Regions from separate parts of the Homo sapiens genome. Here regions 2 and 3 are each linked to region 1. The links are contacts of gene promoters, found by promoter capture Hi-C in blood cells and fetal thymus (Javierre and others, 2016). All regions are on one chromosome and are shown on one strand. Each heading gives the region's core, a stretch centred on a gene start or on the middle of the fragment in contact. The rest is flanking DNA. Distances are from core to core; before and after follow the strand shown.

The links. The method cuts DNA at HindIII sites, captures the fragments that hold promoters and counts their contacts. A CHiCAGO score of 5 or more calls a contact.
Region 2: a contact is called between a fragment that was not itself captured here and the fragment with the promoter of BZW1 in region 1, in 2 of 17 cell types (megakaryocytes and fetal thymus). The highest score is 9.1, in megakaryocytes.
Region 3: a fragment that was not itself captured here is called in contact with the fragment with the promoter of BZW1 in region 1 in 1 of 17 cell types (neutrophils); the score reaches 6.2 in neutrophils.

The regions. Positions count from the first base shown.
Region 1 is chr2:200,809,257-200,813,374 of GRCh38, reverse strand. It overlaps BZW1 (basic leucine zipper and W2 domains 1), which reads right to left and starts at 1,465. Exons shown (of 12, transcript NM_001207067.2): 1 at 1,385-1,465; 2 at 94-167. The coding sequence starts at 157. BZW1-AS1 (BZW1 antisense RNA 1) reads left to right here and starts at 1,205. Exons shown (of 4, transcript NR_110275.1): 1 at 1,205-1,590. RefSeq lists enhancers at 112-627, 628-1,143, 1,992-2,251 and silencers at 892-1,261, 1,792-1,941. The HindIII fragment of the contact is 7,792 bases long and covers 1-3,528 here.
Region 2 is chr2:199,967,431-199,971,627 of GRCh38, reverse strand. It overlaps LOC124906112 (a long non-coding RNA gene), which reads left to right. Exons shown (of 3, transcript XR_007088012.1): 3 at 1-1,031. Among named protein-coding and RNA genes, the nearest start is that of MAIP1, 14 kb to the right of the region's middle. The HindIII fragment of the contact is 1,027 bases long and covers 770-1,796 here.
Region 3 is chr2:201,775,724-201,779,743 of GRCh38, reverse strand. The region is part of intron 1 of ALS2 (alsin Rho guanine nucleotide exchange factor ALS2); the gene reads left to right. Among named protein-coding and RNA genes, the nearest start is that of ALS2, 3.2 kb to the left of the region's middle. The HindIII fragment of the contact is 272 bases long and covers 2,405-2,676 here.

The DNA.
Region 1 (4,118 bases), core at 216-2,715:
GGCTTTAGTAATATGCAAGTACCTGTCAGAGAAGGCAAGATACACAAGATGTTCTGGAGGTTTGAAGAGAGACATTAAAACGTAAATATTTACCTCTTTTTCTAGTTTTAAAACGCTGGCCTGATAGCGTTGGCTTTTGCTGCTTTTGATTATTCATAAAAGACACCCTAGGAAAGGAGAAATAAAGCCTTAATATCAGTGCCATAATACTAATTTTTAAAGCAAAACATCAAACCTTAGTCTAGTCACATATGAATCAAATGGAACACCCACTCTCAGGATATAAAGCTGGCAATTATACCCGATACAGGCACAAAGAATTACCTGCACTTGAATCAAATGTACGTCAAAATGTGCATTTCTCTCTACAAGAAACCCTTCAAATTAGTGCTGTGAACTACTTTTAAGCGACATTGTAGTGCTACAGTGATCACCCGTCATAAACCTAATTGTTCAGTTTTCTCCACATTCCTCTTTACATTCACTTACATCTTCCACGACCACTAAGCATCGCAGAACGCAAAGAGAGATTATCACCATAGTCAGCAGGCATCCAAAATGTGTATGCCAATTCTAAAACACTGTCAAAAGGTGAACCCCTTCTTCTGACAAGCCTGGTTACGGGCAGCACCATCCTACCCTAGGTCATGCCTGTGACCGCAACAGCGGCCGCCTTGCACCACTCAGGCCTGCAAAACTAACAGCCAGCCCAGCCTCCTTCGCCCATATCCCACAGTCCTAGCCTCCTCCCCGGTAACGTGTCTCCCAATCCACACCCTTCCCATGCCTCCCGCCCGAGCCACAGATCACCCGCTTCCCGCCCAGGACCCCATCGGCCACAGCGGGGCGCCGTAGGGTCCCGCGGCTCTTTCTCCACTGACCCTGTCGCCTGCGGTGGCGGCCGCCGCAACGAGCGGACCACAGTCACTGAGGCGCTTTGCGCCGGGGCCCCAGGCGCCCCGTACATCCGCCCGCCCTCCAGCGAAAGCAGCGGCGGAGGCGGCGGCCGCAGCGGTGGTGGGTGGCAGCCCCTCCGCCCCGCCCGCCGGAAGCCCCCACGCGTACATCACACAACAGAGGCCGCGGCGGCTTTGTTAGCCAGGCCGGGCACGGCCCAGAGGGAGCCCGCCTCGGCCACTGCCTTCGCAGCCAGCGCCGCGGCGCACACCCGGACCCCACCTCCCCACCCGGGCCGCCGCTACCCCTCGGCCTCCCTGCCGAAGCGGCGGCCTTTCAGGCCCTAGATCCGGCCCGGCCTCAAGAGGCGACCTCCGTTCGGGCCCATCCAAGCCGGGCCGCATCCAGCCCGCCGCCTCCCTCTCCCTCTGCCCGGCGTCCACGACCCGCAGCGTCCGCCCGGGGTGAGCGGGGCGCCGCGTCTCACCGAATTTAAGGCGAAGAGGAAAGAGCCAGAAATCCCCGATGTACCGGCAACTGCGGCGGTGTCTCCTCTGCGACCGGAACTAACGCCAGGAGGAGGGAGAGGTGCCACCCCCGCCCGGACCGCTCTCCTATCGCGAGATTTCTTCCCCTTGCCCCGCCCTGATCGTGGACAGGCGCTTCCGCCTTTTCTATTGCGCGCGGATTAGGGTGAGGGACTGGGATAGGGGAGGGGAGAGACGTTTCCAGTCTTCTTTATTCCCTTACTGGGTTCCACGTCGCCTGGACACTTGTCCTAGACTAGCTTATTTTTCTTCCCCCGCTGCGTCGTCCGCCCTCTTCACACATGGAGGGGTTGGAAGAGCGGAGCCGGCCCCCGCCGGTCTCGAAGTTGGACGCGTCCTCCTGGAGTCCCTCGCCGCCGGCCCCCTCCTCCAGCACCGGAAGTCGAAGCCCGAGGGCGGGGGGCCCTCGGGTCGTGCGGGGGCGGAGGCTGGGGGCGGGCATGGGGGCGTGGTTTGGGGAAGGAATCCGCACCTCGCCTCCGCCCTGGCCGGGATGGGCGGAGTTCGCTCCAGCTGAGTCCCCTGCCTGGCGACTTTTCTCTGAGGGGCTGTCTCATTGTTCACTACCTCCCTTAAGAGCGAAGAGGACACAGGCCGAAGATTGAGAAGGGGAAATTCTGTCCTCCAACCGCGGTCCCTGCGCGCTGCAGCGGTTGTCTCCCGAGTGTGGTGGCTATGGGGACTTGGAGAGCATCAGAATCCCTTGGAGGACTTGTTATAACAGACTGCTGGGCCCCACCCGTAGTTTCTCATTCTGTAGGCCTGGTGTGGAACCCATGAATGTGCATTTCCAACAAGTTATCTGTGATGCTGCTGCTGGTCCGCACCTTGAGAACCCCTCAGTTAGAGGCTATATCATCAGGGAGCTGGGGTACGATCAGATTAGATAGTGCGTGTGAAAAGCACTGTGGACGTGACAAAACTCTGTGCAGATAAAGATGCACAGCGCCTCTAGGATGTAGCCCCATGTTTTTATTCACTGTACAGTAGTTTACTTCTCTCCAGTTGCTTCCTCACTCTCTGGTAGGAGGAGAGTGGCTTCTCTTCCCTAAACCTTTTGATAAAATAGTTTGTTGACTTCTTTTCCCTAATTAACTATCTGACCTCTACCCCACCCCCCCGCAACTTCATGGAAAAATGACTTTCTCAGCGTTCGTTCCTGAAATTATTGCCAAACCCAGTGTTTTATTCTTCACCCTGTTTGCCTCCTCTGAGCATTGAATGTTACCTACCTCTCTCCTTGAATCCTGGCTCCAGCTATCCTGGTTACGTTCTGAATGTGCCTTTGCACGGTATTTTCTGACTCTTCTTTTCTGTACTGATACCTTTTCTTTCTGGATACTTTCTTCTATGGCAGTCTCATACATTCTCAAGGATTTAACATTTACTCCACTTAAAAGAGTTCCAAGATCATCTACTGAATCATTAAGCAAATATTTGTTAAATCCAGGCTCTATGCCCTTCCAAGTTGAGGCAACAGCAGTGGGAAGGAGGCAGGAAACAAACTGCATCTGTTGGAGGAACTGCAAGAAGCTAGTGTGATTGGGAGGGCTGTGGGGAGCAGAGGGAAGTGGCTGGAGTCTGATCTCTAAGTGTCTAGCCCCTTCCTTTCTCCCAAGGCCCCAGTCCACACTATCTGGCATCTTCACTTCATGGCTAATTTAACACTGTCAGTGCTGTCAATTGCTCTTCCCCCAGAACTGTATTTTTCACATCTGAAGTTCTGTTAAAGGACAACGTTTCACAAATAAAAATGATAACTAATATGTCCCTATATGTATCAGGCCCTCTTCTATGCACTTTATGTAGTAACCCCATTTCATCCTGAAAACTACCCTGTAATCTAGACACTATTATTAGTCCCATTTTACAGATGGAAAAGCCGAGGCATCGAGGTCAGGTAACTTGTCTAAGATCATAGCGCTAGTAAGTGGAAGAGGTCCAGTTGAACCCAAGCAGTCTGGCTTCACCATTATAATGCACCGCCTTACCACCAAGATCTTATTTATTCATTCAACAAATATTTATTCAGCTAGAGACCAGTAGAGATAGTGACATGTTACGCCTATGGCCTCACAAAGCTTATCTTCTATTTTTGCCACGTTTTAAAATTGTATCATCTTTCCCCAGTACCATCTTGATTTAGGCATCTATTACCCCTAACTAAATGGGACTTTTGCAATAACTTCCTAACTGTACTATCCCCTTTCTCAACATTTCCAGAGCAATCTTCTCAACTGCAAGCTGAATCATTTCTCTTCACTGTTTAAATGCCTCTGTTTATACTCAGGGATAGCTCTGACCAATGTTTTTCACCTTTACTTCCCATCACATTTGTGGTTCTTAACCTGTTATTACCATCATTGTGGGGTATGTAGCAAATGATTTTTGACTAAAAATGATATTAAAGTAAGCAGATTATTTTCTTTAAAATGTAAAGTGGATTAAAGGTTTTCCTGAACTCCTGGCCTCAAATAATCCTCCCACCTTGGCCTCCTGAAGTGTTGGGATTACAGACCACACCTTGCCACTTATCTTTTCTCTGCTTTTGGGTGCACCCATGGGAATAGGCACCGTGCAGCTAGCAGGGGAAACGTTGTTTGTGAATTGTATTATGGTAGGAAAAGGTTCCAAACAATTGAACTCTATGCTTTGGTCAGACAGGACACATCT
Region 2 (4,197 bases), core at 34-2,533, 840 kb after region 1:
TTTTTGATGAGATTAACATTTAAACCACTATACGAATGTTAAATTTCTCTATATATGTTTCCATAGTTATCTATGTTTCTCTCTCTCTCCATAGATATGAGATAGATAAATATAAGTTTTGTTTCTCTGGGGAACTCTAATACAATACCCTTCTTTCAACTTTTCAGTATGTTTGAAATTTTTTCTAATGAAAAGTTAGGGAAAAAATTTAATTCAGATAATTTTTTAAAAACATTCAGGAGTTTTTAAAAACATTTTCCTGATCTAGCCAATGCTGACATTCAGGAGTTAAGTGCGTTATTTTGTAGCTCATAGCTATTCTTCTAGGAGAGAAAATTAGTCTTAATGGAGAATAGTCTGAGGAGCCTAGCCAACTAAAAATAAGCATCACCTGTTAGTTTGCAAATATTTTTGAGAATTTATTGTCTTAGTGGCTATGCTCAGTCCTGGGAAAAGAGTGGTAAGCCACCCAGAAGTAGTCCTTTCTAACTTCTTCCTGTGTCACTGTGTGTCCCATACTTGGCAAGCCAAGTTCATTTGGGTCAAAGTAGAACACATCTAACTAGTTCTTGATTTTAAGAGAATCTACAGGTTTTCTGATCAGGGAGCCTGTATTGATGATATAGCCACTTCGGTGAAAGCCAACAGTGACAGCTTCATATTTCAAAAGTCAGACAACTCCAGTGAACATGATATAAACTCTTTTCTTCCTCTGTTTGTTCCTCTGTGTGGTGTTCCTCACACCAACACAGAACACATTTAGAAAGCTTATTTAAAAACATGTCAAGTTCTCAGAGAGAGAAGAAGAATGGTTACCAGAGGCTGGGAAGGGAAATGGAGGTGGGGTGGGGGAGTGGGGATGGGGATGGTTAATGAGTACAAAAAAACTAGTTGGAAAGAATTAATAAGAGTTACTATTTGATAGCACAACAGGGTGACTATAGTCAATAATAATTGTACATTTTAAATAACAAAAAGCACATGATTGGATTGTTTGTAACACAAAGAATAAATGCTTGAGGGGATGGGTACCCCATTCTCCATGATGTGATTATTACACATTGCATACTTATTTCAAAACATCCCATGTACGTGCACCCCATAAATATATAACCCTACTATGTACCCACAAAAATTAAAAATAAAAAAATTTAAAAATAAGAAAATAAGTTCTGCTTTGGCCATAATAAACATTTATCCTGATGCCTTAAACACTAGACAACTCAGCAGATTACATGAAACTACTGTGCTCAAACACTGGACAGTAGGAAGCACAGTATTTTTATCTATGAAAGAAGAGAAACGAACAAGGCAGATCCTATGATAACCCAGATTTCTGTGTGGGGCACTTTCTAGACCACCCAGCCAGGGAAAAAAATCCCCAGCAAAACATGATAAACTTGCTGAATTGAGGAGACAGACATGGAAGGCCATGGAGTCTGAAGAGGCCAGAGGTGTAAGGCAAATGTTCAGACAGGAGCAAGCTATGCGGAACAAAACTTCAGAAGTTTGTATAGTAATTTCCTTGAGTTTTTAGTGAACTCTAAGCTATGAACAAAAGCTATAGAGTGAGACTCTATAAAGTCAAGCAAAGAGTGACTAGAAGCTGTGAAGTGAACAGTTCTCAGAGAGCCTGTAGTGCTGGGAATTCATTTGGGTTCCCTAAGCCAGCATGGAGAGTGCTGTCCTGTTTGATAACTCAGGGCATCCAGTAGAGACCCCATAAATTACTCCATACAAATGGGGCTACACTCTTGGTAGAGTAAAAACTAGTCTAGATAAACCCTAACAAAGCTTAACAATAGCCTCAAAAAAATCAACCTGAACCCCAAATAACCTAACTGGCTACCTAAGAGAACACAGTTCAACATTCTTCTCAAGGCAAATACTACCCAATGATACCCAGATATTCAATGACAGAAAATTCATAAATTCAGTGTCCAATAAAAAATTACTAGACCAGGCCAGGCCTGGTGGCTCACACCTGTAATCCCAGCACTTTGGGAGGCCAAGGCAGGAGGATTGCTCGGTCCAAGAGTTCAAGACCAGTCTGGGCAAAATAGTGAGAACTTGTCCCTATTTATTTTTTAAAAATTACTAGACCAGCCAAAAGCAGGAAAATGTGGCCCATAACCAAAAGAAAAATCACTTACTAGAAAGAGATTTTAAAGAAAGACAACTTTAAAACAACTGTTGGGCCAGGCAGAGTGACTCACACCTGTAATCCCAGCACTTTGGGAGGCAGAGGCAGGCAGATCACTTTAGCTAGAAGTTTGAGGCCAGCCTGGGCAATATAAGGAGACCCCATCTCTACAAAATCTACAATAATTAGCTGGACATGGTGGCATGCACCTTAGTCCCAGCTACTTGGGAGGCTGAGGTCGGAGGATCACTTGAGCCTGGGAAGCAGAGGTTGCAGTGAGCCAAGATCACACCACTGCACTACAGCCTAGGCAACAGAATGAAACCCTGTCTCAAAACAAACAAACAAACAAACAAAAAGCTGTTATAACTATGCCCAGCAAGTTAAAGGAAAACATGAACATAGAGAAGCTATGAGAAAGAATCAAATGGAACATGTAGACATGAAAACTAACACATCTGAAATAAAGCTGACATAATTCCACTCCCACCTTTCACTAACACAACACACTCTTCCTCAAAAATCCCTGTAAGATCAATGGTTTGCTCTGCTTGACAAGACTCCTCCCTTACTAAGGTAATAAATCAATTCAAATTTGGGGTTTTATATTGATTTTCAGTGGTGGTCTCATATTTTGACAACTATGAGGTTCCACCAAGGTTATTTTGATGACTCTAACTTAAAAATAAATAAAGGTGTCCTCATCAGGTCCCTTTGTGTCCAGATTTCATTTATCCTTTGGATTTGTTCCAAGTATATTTGTCTCAATATTGATCTGTACTCTGACTCTCAGTGAGCATGTATTGTTGAGTTTGTTAAATGAGGATTCCTATCAAAATAGTTCTTTGTAGATGGCATTGTCAATATTTTGGCCATTAATTTCATTATTCTTCAAGCGTGTGCTTGTTTTGCTTTAGTGCATCTACTAGTACAGAGTCTTGGCTTAGGACTTTTTTTTTTTCCTGTTTCTTTGTCTTTCATAGTCATTTTATTTCTTGGATATATAAGGGGGTTCTACATAGGGAATGAACAAAGGAATAAGTCCATTCAGCCTCCAATTCAATCCAAGTTGAGTCCAAGGACTATGAATTAGAGGTCCAGTAGACAATGACAAATTCATGATCAAACTTTGCCTTTTGTCCCCTAAACACCTTCATAGGGACACTTCCTCTTTTATCAATTAATGAAAGGCCATTTTGTTTAGTCCATATGCCAGGGTAAAAAATTGTCATGTCATTCATTGCATAGTCCCTTCTTAGCCCCAGTTGGTAGGTAACCCGAGATGCTATTCTTTAGCATATATTTTTGTTTGACTATAATGGCTTCTTTCTTGTTTGTCATGAATTTTTCTAAATTAAAGTCATAACTTCTTACTGGCAGAACTACTTTTTATATGAATTCTCACTAAAATACTAACTCACGTGCTCACCCTAGTACAGCAAAAATATTTTTAACTCAAAGTAGCAATGATTACCTTGGGGGACATTCTGATAGTCAAAATTAATACATTTAAGCAGAGCTCTAGAAAAATGAGGAAAACTAATAATATTCACAATTCAGTAGTCAACTTCTTTGGTGTGTCGAGACCTCAAAACAAACAGTTGATGAGAAGATAGTCTCTTTCAAAGACTCTCTAATTTCCTATCATTCAAGCCTTCTGAAACTATGCTCCGTATATAGATGATATCGAATTCTCATCACTCAGTCATATTCTTTCAATTCCTTCTACTCCTGGTCTCCTAAATGTCTAAATGTGATACCCTTTCCTCAGGACTTTTCTCAGAAAAGGTCATTGTATAGTATTCTCCTTAGACTTGCTAGAACAGAAAGCAGGATCAATAGAAGCTGAATTTAAACCTTGGTCTAGAGCATCAGTAAGACTAACACAAATTCGCTGCAGAATTTGGAATTTTGTTAGATAGACATTATTTTGGACTATTTAATTTATATAGCTTGCTTAATTGCTAGTCTCTCAAAAGGGAAAAATGGTTAAAAGCAGCAGGATGGGAAACACCAGGAGGAGATTTTCATCACTTAGCTGTGTATAAGTGAAG
Region 3 (4,020 bases), core at 1,291-3,790, 970 kb before region 1:
TTTAATCTCTCTGCCTCAGTTCTCTTGTCTCTAAATTGGGGATAAAAATGTTTTCCTGATAACAGTACCTTTACGTGTAATGGTTCATGTATCGTATTTATTACAGTGCCTGTTTTATGGTAAATATTCAATACATATTAGCTGTTTTTATAATTAATTCCTCCCACTACATCATGATCCAAACTGACTCTTTTCTTAAGTGATGGGGAAGGGAACTGAATATTTTAAGGAAGTAGCTATAAAATATGATTTCAAGTTGTTCTGTAGTAATTTTGGTGTTCCATAAGGACATTTTAATGTGAAAAAGATACTGACAGAATCTATACATGGTTTGAATTTATTAGTTTCTAAACTATGACCAGTATTAGCAGATTTAAAATTCATAATTATAGCAAGAAAACGTCAAAGTTGTTTAACAGTGTTAAAATTTGAAACTGTAATGATCCAGAAAAATGAAATACCAAACCGATAATTTTGGGAAAAAAACAAAACTTGAGTGGCATTATGCAGGCCATTTACTTTTTAAATGTACTCAATATAAACAGGAATCCCTTCTCTCCAAATTTCAGTTTTTCAGAATTTGGGCTGTCATTTGAAACACTTACTTTGGGCACTTTGACTGTTAAAGAAGCAAAGGGTATGCTAAGAACTTCAATGAGTCTTGATGTTAGTGTTTTTGTAATTAGGTGGAATCTCCTACCTTTTCATGAAAACTGGGTTTAAAGCAGTAGCTGCTGGGTCCATTCTAATGATAATCTCAAAAATGTGACTGACTTGTAAAAATCTACAATTATTTATTAATGTGAGACTAGGTAAAGTATGAGTTGAAAAACTAGGAAGAAAGGCAGAGTGGTGATTTTTAAGCTTGTATAAAGGAAGGCCCGCTTTGGGTACTATGAGGTACCTTTCTCACTCAGAGGCATGCTGTGAGGATTTGTGACTTTTAAATCATTTAGCTCTTTTTATAACTTTGTGGAATTAAATCTACCACGTATTTCAAGTGTATTCAGGATATGAATTTTCCTGGTAGAGAGTTTTAACAGATTTTTTTCTCTTAACCCTTCATTGATGACCAAACAATTTTGTTGTCTGTAATAAGAAAGTACTCGGTTTTGTAGGGTGTCAGTCCTTAAGAAAATGTTAGGTAGTCATCAATAAAATAGCAACAATCTCTGGCTTGTTTCTTTTTCATATTGCATTTAATTTTCCTTTCCCTGTCTCTTATTCATCTGTATATGTGATGGTGCTTTCTTTAGCTTATGTCTTGATGTTTGCCTGCATGTAGCTGAACTGATTGATCCAGGTGGGTAGAGGAAAAAATATTTAAATTGGTAGTTTTTGGAGCTATTGTATATTTCTTTCAAATTTGAAGAAAATTTACAGTTTTCTCAATACCTATGAGAAAAAGACTGGGGTTTGTTGGCAGAGTTTCGCTTAGCTGCTAGTGAATTATGTCCAGAGAGAAGATCAGCTTTCATCTCATTAATTCCACAAATTGATCATCTCATGTTTCCCTTAATTATCACATTTTAAATATTTTTCTTTTGAGTCATCACACAGTTCTTCAGTTCACATGGCCTCCCTATCAGGAAGGGAGTGGTTTAGACCCAATAATGGCATTTGGGTGGGCTAACATTCACTCCAGGATTTTTTTTTCTTCCACAGCCTAAATTTTTGTAGAGCCAAGATCTTAACTAAACTTGGGGCAATTGGCTAAGCAAACATATAACAAGGATGATTATAGCAGCTCTTTAAAAGAGCAATAAAGTAGAGCAATCCAACTGTAAAGATTAGTGGGGAAATGGATAAACTGGTTTATTCATGCAATTCAATACTATCTTCTCATAAAAATGAATGAGCTAGATCTATACTTACCAACATATATACATCTCAAGTATGTAATACTGGGTGAAAAAAGCAAAATGCTAAAGGATTTATACAGTAAGATGCATTTGTGTACACTTTGAAAGCAACATAATAGCATGCATTATTTATTGATATGTGTATATCTAATGAAAGTACATAAAAGTAAATATGAAAACGTGGGAATGGGATACATTAACTTTAGAAATAGTAACTAATTCTGAGTGGAGTTTCTTCACCTCTGTAACTTATTTTTTCTTGTGTTTTAAAAAAGAGCTGAAGCCAATATGAAAATATGTTAATATGTGTTAAAACTGGATGATGAGTACATAGATTTGTTATTTATTTTTACAGTTTTATGTATAGTTAAGATAGTTTGTGAAACTAGCACTTTAACATTTTTATTTATAATCAGGACTGTTTCCCAATATGTTTGCTTTATTTTACTTTGTACCCTCAAATTAGGAGACTGTGGAAAAAGAACTCTTCTTTCCCTGCAATAAGAAAGGAATGTGCCAGTGCAGCTCCACTATGTAAAGCTTTTCTAAGGAGAGGAGACAGACCAATTATTTGGTCAGTTTTGCTTTGCTGTTTGTGCTCCTGGGAAAATGCTTTCTTTAGGACATGAAGCCTGCAGGGGAATTAACATTCTAGAGATGCTTGGGAAATGTAGGCATATACCAATCATGAACTCTGGAAGTATAGGGGAGCAAGTTGTATAATAAGGCCCTCAAAGGAATTTGGACATGTTGTGACTCAGATACAAAATTACTACAGATTTGTGTAGTATTAGCATTAACACTTTGAAAAGCTTAACTTGGTTACATTTTATTACAACGTAGTTATCTTGAGTTTATACCTTGAATGCAAGTATCCCAGTTGTTGCTCAAAGAAAATAGTTGTCTCTATAGATATTAGTAAGTAACCTGATGACAATGTGTTAAATGGTTGACTAATGAATAATACGTTTAGTAGCTGATCCCTAATGTAACCTCAGTATTTAAACTTGTGAGTTAAACAATATTTTTATTTCTAATAAAGAGAACCTGCTACTAGCACTATTAAAGCAAGTGAAACTTGTATCACGAGAATAATATTTTTTAGTATGTGTATTTCCTGTTTAGTTATGTGGCCCCTGAATGATCCTAAGCACTGTTATCAGTTGGTGAAAGAAGTCATCATACTTTGAACTGTAAATCTAATATTGCCTTTGAAAAAATTGTGGCCATTTTAATAAGAGAGTAGTTGCAAATATTAACGGAATAAGTAGTTTGTGTCAGGACTTACCAGGACATTCACTGTACCATGTAATAACAGGCACAAATAGTGGCAGTACCTGGGAATTTGAAATTCATTTGTTAGTATTATAATATTCATCACAATGCATCATGGGATTATTATTTAATAATCCTGAAAAATGTGTTTAAAATATGCAGTGGGTACAAAAAAGAGCTAAATGGGCATTGCTGGGAACTTATTGTACCATGTTTACACACTTTCCCCCCACTCCACCATGAATAATTTCCGATTAGAGGATCGTCATAACCAGGAGAGTGTAGTTTCAGTAAGTTTCAGCATGAAATTAGCAAGGCATTAAAAAAAGACTGTAAAGTCTTCCTGTTTCTCATTGCACCAAAAGCTGTCTGTGTACTAAGGAGAAAGGGAGAAAGGAACACTTCTCTGAGTTGTTTAACCATTTTTAAAGTGACATGAGATAAAAGTGTCTTCATTGTTAGGATATACCTTTAGCAAATTATATATGAGAGTTTCTATTAGGAGAAGACACTTTTTTCTTTTGTATCTGTTACTGACTTTTATTACAGGCACTAGAAATCTATAGCGTGGAAGTCTGTGGATTGCAACTGAAAATCAGGGGCTGTATCTTTCACTCAAGCACTCACTTAAATGTAACCAGCTTGTTCAGAATGATTATTATGGGTACAAGAGTATACCGGTGAATAAGTCATAGTCTCTGACCTCCAGGAGCTTAAAATATATTTTGAATCAGTGACTTAGTGCATATCCTATTAGTAACAACATTATAACTAATAAGTAGCTTTCTAGGCCAGCCTACCGAATATATCCAATGCCTTAATTTACTGAATTCTCTTACTCTGAGTCAAGATTTGAAGGCTCATTGGCTCCCATACTGGTATC